2 separate regions of the Homo sapiens genome follow, and region 2 is linked to region 1. Evidence: promoter capture Hi-C in 16 types of primary human blood cells and fetal thymus (Javierre and others, 2016). All regions are on one chromosome and are shown on one strand. The core of a region is centred on a gene start or on the middle of the fragment in contact, and the rest is flanking DNA. Distances in the headings are between cores, read along the strand shown. Region 1 holds the start of WDR33 (WD repeat domain 33). Region 2 overlaps MYO7B (myosin VIIB).

Region 1 (5,327 bases), core at 1,541-4,040:
CGCGCCACTGCACTCCAGCCTGGGCGACAGAGCAAGACTCCGTCTCAAAATAAATAAATAAATAATGAAAATATAGTTGTTACATATAACAAATTTAAAAACTCTTTAAAATGTCTTTTCCCCCCAGTTTGTTCAATTGGGACCCAAATAGGGAGTACACATTCCATTTGGTTGATATGCCTCTTAAGTCTCTAACCTGTAACAGATAATCTCTAACAGTTTCTTTCCTCAGTTTTTAAATTTTTATTGGAAGAAAATGTATCACATGTAAAATTTTATAAAATATAGAATATGGCTGACTGCATCCTTGCAGTATACTTAACAGATTCATTTGTCTCCTGGTCAATTTAAAAAACAATTTTCCAGGAAGGGGCCTGTGAGGTTACAGGTGTGAAGGATTTTTGCCCTTGATTAGACTGCTCCTCCAATTCAGTACATTTTAAAGATTTTCAGGGATCAGGACACTGCCTGAATGCCTCCTCTACCACTCCCAGTATAATTTCTAGGAACTGACCACTTGCTTGTCTTTTCTGCCTAACTTCTAAACCCAATTGATGAGCGGACTTCTTAGCGTTACCTTCCTGACCCCATTCCCTACCTTCAGCCCTTGAGAATCCTGCCTTCTATCCTGGCTTTCCTGCCTTGCACTCAGGGTGTCCATGGCTTCCTTCCATCCTAACCTAAGCTCATCACACAGAACTGGAATTGTCTGGCCTCCTTACATATTTCTAGACACATATCAAAATAAGATTATAGGGGCTGGGCGTGGTGGCGCATGGCCTGTAATCCCAGCACTTTGGGAGGCTGAGGCAGGAGGATTGCTTGAACCCAGGAGTTTGAGACCGCCCTGGGCAACATAATCAGATCTTGTCTCTGTCTCACGTGTCCGTGTGAAGAGACCACCAAACAGGCTTTGTGTGAGCAACAAGGCTGTTTATTTCACCTGGGTGCAGGTGGGCTGAGTCCGAAAAGAGAGTCAGCAAAGGGTGGTGGGATTATCATTAGTTCTTACAGGTTTTGGGATAGGCATTGGAGTTTGGAGCAATGTTTTGTGGGCAGGGGGTGGATCTCACAAAGTACATTCTCAAGGGTGGGAGAATTATAAAGAACCTTCTTAAGGGTCGGGGAAATTACAAAGTACATTGATCAGTTAGGGTGGGGCAGAAACAAATTACAATGGTGGAATGTCATCAGTTAAGGCTATTTTCACTTTTGTGGATCTTCAGTTGCTTCAGGCCATCTGGATGTATACGTGCAAGTCACTGGGGATATGATGGCTTAGCTTGGGCTCTGAGGCCTGACAGTCTCTACTAAAATTAGCTGGGTATGGGTGTCCTGGTACAGGTCATTAGTCTGAGCTACTAGGGAGGCTGAGGTGAGAGGATCACTTGAGCCCGGGAGGTTGAGGCTGCAGTGAGTTATGATCACCCTGGGTGAGAGACCTTGTCTCTAAAAAAAGAAAAAATATAGAAGTTTATAAACATTTCTGATGTTATCATAAAAACTTTAGATACTGTGTAATGTCTGCATGATAGTCTACGTATGGATGTGCCATTATTTAATCACTGTCTGCTACTGTTTCCTTTTTTTTTTGCTATCATTAATACCTCAAAGATTAGTACACAAATCTTACTCACATCTCTGAGGCTATCCTTAGAATAGATTTTTGGAAGGGGATTATGGAGTCAAAAGTAAGACTTCTTTGAGACAGGGTCTTACTCTGCTTCCAAGACTTAAGTGCACTGGCACGATCTTGGCTCACTGCGCCCTCCAACTCCTGGGCTCAAGTGATCCTCCCACCCCAGTCTCCCAAGTACCCATCACAGGAACGATCACAGGAAGGCGGTCACAGGAACGCACCCCGACGCGCAAAGATGGGATCTCGCCATGTTCCCCAGGCTGGTACGATTCCTGATTCATACTGGAGAACAACTTGCTGTGCAGTTATATTTTGAACCTCATCAAAATGGAATCATACAGCGTCCTCTTCTTTGTGCCTAAGTTAACAGTAGCTGCTATTCGTTCAGGCTGTTGCGTTTATCCGTAACTTCCTATTTCTCTGTAGAAATCCACTGTATGATACACCACAATTTAGCCACTCAACTGCTGATGGACATTTAGGTTACCAGTTTTTTACTACTACGAATAAACGTGCTATGGACATTCTTGCACATGCCTTTGGTGGACGTATGCACTCATTCCTCTTGAAGTGAAATTTCTGGGGTCACAAGGTAAGCGTACATTTAGCTTTGGCAGAAACTGCAGCGGTTTTCCAAAATGGTTGCATCGTGGGGCTGTTTTTCTATCTTGGTCGCTGGACTTTAAGCGAGGCGTAATCTAGAGGCACAACTGGCTCGGGTAAGGCGTGGAGCCTGACTGTGTGCCGGGATCTGCCAGGGCTGCCACCAGCTAGCTGCACGGGTGAACAGACTCAGCAAGGTGCCACAGTGGCTTCCCACAGATCCACTCTCGGTGGGCTCGGTCCAACGACCCGCTATGTCTGCCGTACTGGCCCCGTACAAATATACTCATTCACATACTGGAAAACGGGGTGTTTTTCAGAGCATACACGTTAGCTCACACTGTAAAAAAAAGTCAGCACTGCGAAACGCAGTCGCTTCTTTCCTCCAGGAGGTAGCGCGTCCTACTCGCTCCGGAACAAAGGAAGCGCTCTGCAGGGTCTCGCGGCTCGGCACCTCACCTAGGCACATGCGCAGATCGAACCTCACAGAGGCCCGCGGTCCAGGCGCGCGTGACGTAGCGCCGTCCCGCCAGTGCGTGATGACCCCAGAGCGTGCGTTCGGTGGCCCATAGGGGAAGATGGCGGCTGCTCCTTTGGAGGAGCGGGATTGAGAGGATCGGGGTGGGGAGACCAAACAAGAGAGACATTTCTGGCTCTGAAGGCGAACGCTTCGCTGGCCATTTAGGAGCTCTGCTCAAAGCCAGACGGTGAGTGCGGCGGCGACACGGGACTGCTCGCCTGCAGCAGGCAGCGGCACTCTCCGCCATTTTCGGGCTCGGCCGTTGCGTGCTTTGGGGGCCTGGACGGGCGCCTGGGCACAGGTTGGAGGAACTGGGAGAATCGACCTCGGGGCGGCTGTTCGAGGCAGGTTCGAGACTTATGGGAGGGGGCTGGAGGCTGGAGGCCAACCGGGAAAAGCGGCCATGGTTAGAACTAAGGCCCTGACTGGGAGCGGTGGCGACGAGAAGACGTAAGTCAGGCCACAGTTAAGACGTGAAGTTTGGAGGGAAATGCATTTTAACTGAGGTTTGGGGCGGGAGTGGAAAGAAGTGGGCCGAGTTGAAGTAGTTGGTTGAAAGGGTCAAGGGAAGTTAACGTGAAATCTGCAAAACAGCTGAAGACTTAGCCGTGATGTTATCGTGGCTTGAAATCGGTGCTTATTATAAGGATGAGGCTACAGCTTGACAGGCAAAGCCCTGCTTTTTTGGAATAGTTGTATTTCTATTTGGTTTGTGCTAGATCCCTGTTTCTGATTTTAAGTTGTCTTCTGGCAACTAAGTAGTGAGGATCTTAGCATGCCTTCTTAAAAGAAATGACAATGAATGTTTGTACTTGGTTGTAACCCTTGGGATTAGTGGCCCCTTCCGGAGTAAGGAGGAGGCGGCGGCGGCAGGTCGGTAGGGAATTCCGTAATTGGATCTATTTAAATCAAATCAGAAAAATACGGGCTACTTGTAGAAAGCCTGTCAAGAATGTTTTAAAGTAGTTTCTACACACATGATCTTAAGTTGACTGTTCAGGAACTTTGGAAGACATTAGAATATGAACAAAAAGCCTGCACTGAAAGGAACAACTCTGGGGAGCGTAGACTTTACTTTTTTAGTACACTCTGGAGAGCTAATGCATGCTATATATACATATATATGTGTATATATGTGTGTGTGTATGTATATATAGCCTGTGAATATGGTGCAGTGGTAAACCTACTTAATTCAAACCTTTTAGTGACAGTTATGCTAGTTGTACCTCTTGTGGCATTTTTCATTTCCTCGCCTTAATTGCATTTTACCCATTTTTTATTACTGTAAGATACTTTTGCTTTTTTTGTCTCCTTGACCGGGAGAAGATAAAATATTGTATAGATTTGAGTTTTTGCTGAGACTTGAAGTTCCATATTTAGACTATCTTCTTGAAACTTGGGGAGAAATTTTAACTTGTCTTTCCTGTACTCCTAGGAAGAATTTTGGTAGAAAGTTGGCTTATGGCCGGGCGCGGTGGCTCACGCCTGTAATCCCAGCACTTTGGGACGCCAGGGTGGGCGGATCACCTGAGGTCAGGAGTTCGAGACCAGCCTGACCAACATGGCGGAACCCCGTCTCTACTAAAAATACAAAAATTAGCTGGGTGTGGTGGTGGGCGCCTGTAATCCCAGCTACTCGGGAGGCTGAGGCAAGAGAATCACTTGAACCCCGGAGGCAGAGGTTGCAGTGAGCCAAGATCGCGCCATTGCACTCTAGCCTGGGCAACAGAGCGAGACTCCGTCTCAAAAAAAAAAAAAAAAAAAAAAAAAGGAATTTGGCTTACATATATTACAATGGTTTAGACAAAAATAAATGTTTATCTGTGAAGCTGATGGCTTAACTTGGATAATTTTCTTTGGTTGGTGAAAAATACTAAACAGATTTTGCCATCACGGTTTTATATTGACGTAAGGCTTTAATTATATTTTTACTAAGCACTTAAGGTATTTATTCAGAGCTCTCTTTGCTAAGTAATAAGTTCATATACTTTTCCCATTACTTTGCGGTGGAATATTATTTGATTATGGCTGAAGTTTGAACTGCTTCATATTTCAGAATAGGATAGTAAGGTTACAGAAAAGCTTTATGATTACGACAAAGATATTAGTGAAAAATTTTCACTTATAAATGTGTTTCTGGAATTCTTTTTTTTTTTTTTTTTTTTTTGAGACAAGAGTTTCGCTCTGTCGCCCAGGCTGGAGTGCAGTGGCGCGATCTTTGGCTCGCTGCAAGCTCCGCCTCCCGGGTTCACGCCATTCTCCTGCCTGAGCCTCCCGAGTAGCTGGGACTATAGGCGCCCGCCACCGCGTCCGGCTAATTTTTTGTATTTTTAGTAGAGACGGGATTTCACCGTGTTAGCTAGGATGGTCTCGATCTCCTGACCTCGTGATCCGCCCATCTCGGCCTCCCAAAGTGCTGGGATTACAGGCGTGAGCCACCGCACCTGGCCAATTTTTGTATTTTTTAGTAGAGGCGGGGTTTCACCATGTTGGCCAGGCTGGTCTCAAACTCCTGACCTCAAATGATCCACCTGTCTGGGCCTCCCAAAGTGCTGGGATTACAGG
Region 2 (5,327 bases), core at 1,414-3,913, 220 kb after region 1:
TGTGGGCGGACACCGGGCGCTGACCCAGCGCAAGCCCCACTTTCCAGCCACCCCCCTTCCCGGCACCCCACCACCGGGCACGGGCCCACAGCCAGAGGTCAGTGTGTCCAGCCCCCCGCCCCGCCCACCCCCACTGTCCTCCAGAGATGGAAGAACTAAACAAATGCGACTTCAGTAAGGCTACATTTTGAAGAGAGTAGTGCAAGTAGTTGAAAAACCCGTAATGTTGTCAAGGAGATAAAAGTCGATAGCATGGAAACTGTGGCACCCACAGAAACACAGCACTCCCATCACTGTCAACTACTCGAAGCGCTGTGAATGTAAACGTCCTCTGCACATGCCCAGTTTAAAATGCTTTTTTTAAAAAAATTTTTTAAATTTTATTTATTTATTTTTTTGAGATGGAGTCTCGTTCTGTCGCTCAGGCTGGAGTGCAGTGGCACGATCTCTGCTCACTGCAACCTCTGCCTCCTGGGTGCAAGCGATTCTCCTGCCTCAGCCTCCCGAGTAGCTGGGATTACAGGCGTGTAGCACCACGCCCGGGTAAGTTTTGTATTTTTAGTTAAAGACGGAGTTTCACCATGTTGGCCAGGCTGGTCTCCAACTCCTGAGCTCAAATGATCCGCCCGCCTTGGCGTCCCAGAGTGCTGGGATTACAGGCCTGAGCCACCGCGCCTGGCCCAGTTTAAAATGTTTTTAAGCGCCCCTTGCCTACATAGGTCGGGGTGGAAAGCTGCCCCGCAGGCACTTGCAGTTTCATGGTGCCTCCCTCACAATAGTTAAATGAAAAAATAAATCTACTCAGAGGCAGAAAATATCCTAATCAACTTAGTCTCTCCCTCCCTGGAGATGGAGGTCAGAGTGAGACCTGGAGTGGCTGGGGCGGAGGAGTGGAGGGCCTTTGGCCCCAGGGAGCTGAGCCGTCTTTTGCTTTGAGGCGAGTGTGACTGGCAGAGAAATGGCATGATGTCCTTCCCTGGGGTGTCAGGCTTCAGCAGGGGTTCCAAGACTCTGCCATGGCTTGGATTCTAGAGAGCCCCTCTCCACCTACAAGCCAGGAGTCTCTGAGGGACCCTGGGGAACGCCCTCTGATGTGGCAAACCCACCAGCAGGCACTGTTACCCCACCTGCAGGGTCACAGCGCCAACTGCTGGTGGGGTCCAGGCCACACTGAGCTTAGCCTCGGGTAAGTGTTTAGCTGCGCTTCACTGACGATTTCCTATGGGCCTGGTGTTTCTCACTGAATCTTTACAACATTCCTACCTGGTGGGGGTGATTGGCTCCAACTTAAAGATGAGGTGCTGAGGCATAGGGTTTTGCTTCTAAGGGGCTGAGCCTGGGTTTGAACCCTGAGCAGCCACCAATGAGAGATATCCCAGCCAGAGGCACTCTTAACCCCCGAGCTTCAGCCTCAGGCCTGCCTGCCTGTCCTGCAACTCCCAGCTCCCAAGGTAGGCAGGGTCTGAACGAGCCAAGGGTCTCTGGGAGCCCAGCTACTTCTCCCAGCAGTTAAGGAACAAGATAGGTTATCTCACATCTGCCTATTTTGCCTTCAAGGAAGATGCAACCTAGATTTCATAAGGCAAGCCTCATTTTATTTTTTTAGAGACAGGTCTTGCTCTGTCACCCAGGCTGAAGTGCAGTGGTGTGATCATAGTTCACTGCAGCCTTGACCTCCTGGGCTCAAGTGATCCTCCTCCCTCAGCCTCCTGAGTAGCTGAGACTACAGGCACATACCACCATACCTAGCTAATTTTTATACTTTTAAATTTTTTTGCAGAGATAAGGTCTTACTATGTTGCCCAGGCTTGCCTCAAGCAATCCTCCCGCCTCAGCCTCCCAAAGTGCTGGGATTACAAGCGTGAGCTACTGCACCCAGATCAAACTCGATTTCACATAGTTTTATTCTTTCCAAAAAGCATTTAATTTCATGTAATATTTTTATTCCCTTATGGGGATAAAACCATTTTATATTGTTTCAGCTGATGTCTCCTAGTTTGGGGAATCCCTGCATATGCGGCCTCTGGGTGGGACTCCCCACCCAATGGAGCAGGGACTCCGTTGTGGGCAGGGAGTGTGGGCTCTCACCCCCTCACCGTCTCACAGCAGGTAAAGCTGACTGTCTGCAGGGCTGGTGAAAGGAGTGGTGTCAGCCTCTAAAGTCCTATTACTGATTTCTGCCTTTGTTGAGTGTGGTTTACATATGGGACATGTACTGCAAACCTCATGTCCAACCCTCAGTGCATTCCTGCAGGCAGGAGCAAGTCTGACTTAACAGAAGGGAAAACTGAGGCTCACAGCAGCAAAGAGCCAGGCCAAGAACGCACAGAAGATGCATGGCGGAGCTAAGGGAACTGAGGTCTCAGCAACCCAAAGCTCTGCAGGTCACTGACCTTCACATGACCTAGTCTGGTCACCTTACCCCAGTGTACTTATCTGTAAGGTAGGGGCAGTAACAGCTCTAACGCTAGCCAGGCCCTGGCAGAGGGAGTGACCACAACCCTAGAGGCCATCAGCCTCCTCCTCCTCCCTCCTTTGCTGTGCCCCAGCCTCCTGTCATTACCAGCGGCTTCTTGTACTCATTAGGTTTGATGCAGCGGATGAAGTAAGGCTGGCAGTTGGTCAGGATTTTCATCAGCTGGTCCAGAGACTGTTTGAACTGGCTTCCTAAGGTGGAGGGCCGTTTATTTGAGTCTGCAGACTGTGAATGGAAGCACAGAGCACAAGTGGGTCTCAGGAGCCATGTCCTGGGACAGCTGACCCTGTAGGCCAGCAAGGGTTGCGGCCAAGGCCCCACAGGTGGGGTGGTGCATCTACCTATTCAAGAATCCACCCACCCACCCATCCATGTATCCATCCACCCACTCACCCATCCACCCACCCCTTCACCCATCCACTCACACACCTATCCATCCACCCACCCACCCATCCACCCGCCCACCACCCATCCACCCACTCACCCATCCTTCCACCTACCCAGCACCCATCCACCCACCCACCCATGCGTCCATCCATTCACCCACCCACCCACCCATCCATCCTTCCATCCACTCACCAACCCACATAGCCACCCGCCCATCCATCTATCCATCCACCCTCTCACCCATCCACCCACCCACCCATCCACCCACCCATTCACCCATCCATTCACCCATGCACCCACTCATCCATCCACCCACGCACCACCCATCCACCCACTCACCCATCCATCCACCTACTCACCACCCATCCACCCACTCACCCATCCACCCATGGCCCCACTAAGGCCATGCTCTCCACCCCTCTACCCAGGCGTGGCCCCCACCATCTACCCAGCACAAAGTCACTTCTCCTATCTAAACTCTGGACCCCCCAGATTCCCATTCCCACTCCAAACCCCCTTATATAAGCTGCCACATGCACCCACCCATGCACCCATTCATTCACCATTCCACCCACCCATCCATCCATCCACTCACCCATCCACACAGCCACCCACCCATCCATCTATCCATCCACCCACCCACCCATCCACCCACCCATCCATCCACTCACCCACCCACACAGCCACCTGCCCGTCCATCTATCCATCCACCCACTCACCCATCCACCCATCCATTCACCCATCCACCCACCCACCCGTCCATCCACTCACCCATCCACACAGCCACCCACCCATCCATCTATCCATTCACCCACTCACCCATCCACCCAACCATCGACACACCCATTCACCCATCCACTTACATACCCATCCACCCATCCACTCACCCACCCATCCATCCACCCACCCACCACCCATCCACTCACTCACCCATCCATCCACCCATCCACTACCCATCCACCCACTCACCCATCTATCCACCCAACCACCCATTCACCCGTCCATCCACTCACCCATCCATCCACTCATCCATCCATCCATCCAACCAACCAACCACACATCCATTTACCCATCCACCCTCACACACCCATCCACCCATCCACTCACCCACCCATCCATCCACCCACCCATCCATCCACCCACCCACCACCCATCCATCCACTCACCCATCCACCCACCCACTACCCATCCACCCACTCACCCATCTATCCACCCACCCATCCATTCACCCATCCATCCATCCATTGCAGGATTCCCAAGTGCCAACTGCATGCTGTGGACCCAGAGGTGAGTAAAACAGTCTTTCCTGTACATGTCTGTCTGGCCCTGTAGCCATCAGGGGTGACAGACCCAGGAGGGTGCCTGGGAGCCCACCTTGAAGAGATGGTTTCCTGCCTTTGCCTGGCGGATGGTCCCATGGCCCAGCTTGGTCTCTGCTAACTCCAAGTTGAATATCTCCCTCAGAAACTTGTTTTTGGAGGAGTAAACCAGGGTGAGGATATCTGTGCTCAGCACGTCTCGGTTCTTCTCCAGGAAGCCTGTGGAGACACAGGGCCCACCCAGCATCCCAGCTTAGCCATCACTGCCCACCCATGGGGAAGAAGAGGGCAGTGTGGGGGAATACAGGATGCGTGGAGGAGCCCCCTCCTACAATGGCCCCACTACGGCCATGCTCTCCACCCCTCTACCCAGGCATGGCCCCCACCATCTACCCAGCACAAAGTCACTTCTCCTGTCTAAACTCTGGACCCCCCCTAATTCCCATTCCCACTCCAAACCCCCTTATATAAGCTGCCACATCCTCCTGCCTCTGGGCAGATCCTACTAGGGCTAAGGCTCCTTCAGACTAAAAACAGATGCAGCCTCCAGAAATAGGAGAGGGGCAGTGTCATGGGCTAAAATGTGTCCCCTAAAATTCATATGTTGGTGTCCTAACACCCTATACATCAGAACATGACTGTGTGTGGACATAGGGCCTTTAAGGAGGGGATTAAAGTAAAATGAGGTCATTAGGATGGGCCCTAATCCAGTGTAACTAGTGTCATTATAAGAAGGGGAGATGAGGCTGGGTGTGGTGGCTCACACCTGTAATCCCAGCACTTTGGGAGGCTGAGGCAGGTGGATCACAAGGTCAGGAGTTCGAGACCAGCCTGACCAACATGGTGAAACCCTGTCTCTACTAAAAATACAAAAGTTAGCCAGGCATGGTGGCATGTGCCTGTAATCCCAGCTACTCAGGAGCCTGAGGCAGGAGAATCGCTTGAAGCCCGGAGGCAGAGGTTGCAGTGAGCTGAGATCACACTATTGCACTCCAGCTTGGGTGACACAGTGAGACTCTGTCTCAAAAAAAAAAAAAAAAAAGAAAGAAAGAAAGAAGGGGAGATGAGGACACAGACACACACAGAGAGAAGGAAGGCCATATGAGGACACAGAGAGAAGACGGCCATCTGCATACAAAGGAGAG

The links. Contacts are between HindIII fragments. The CHiCAGO score rates a contact against its expected background, and 5 or more counts as called.
Region 2: a contact is called between a fragment that was not itself captured here and the fragment with the promoter of WDR33 in region 1, in 5 of 17 cell types (naive B cells, total B cells, naive CD8 T cells and 2 more). The highest score is 8.8, in naive B cells.

Annotation. Positions count from the first base shown.
Region 1 is chr2:127,808,634-127,813,960 of GRCh38, reverse strand. It overlaps WDR33 (WD repeat domain 33), which reads left to right and starts at 2,790. Exons shown (of 22, transcript NM_018383.5): 1 at 2,790-2,949. LOC124907885 (a long non-coding RNA gene) reads right to left here and starts at 2,710. Exons shown (of 2, transcript XR_007087230.1): 1 at 1,818-2,710; 2 at 229-1,449. RefSeq lists enhancers at 2,489-2,558, 2,829-3,118, 3,139-3,218, 3,299-3,378, 2,785-3,725 and 1 more. The HindIII fragment of the contact is 7,008 bases long and covers 1-4,846 here.
Region 2 is chr2:127,587,466-127,592,792 of GRCh38, reverse strand. MYO7B (myosin VIIB) reads right to left here. Exons shown (of 48, transcript NM_001393586.1): 15 at 4,238-4,401; 16 at 2,564-2,701. Among named protein-coding and RNA genes, the nearest start is that of MYO7B-AS1, 41 kb to the left of the region's middle. The HindIII fragment of the contact is 8,153 bases long and covers 1-5,327 here.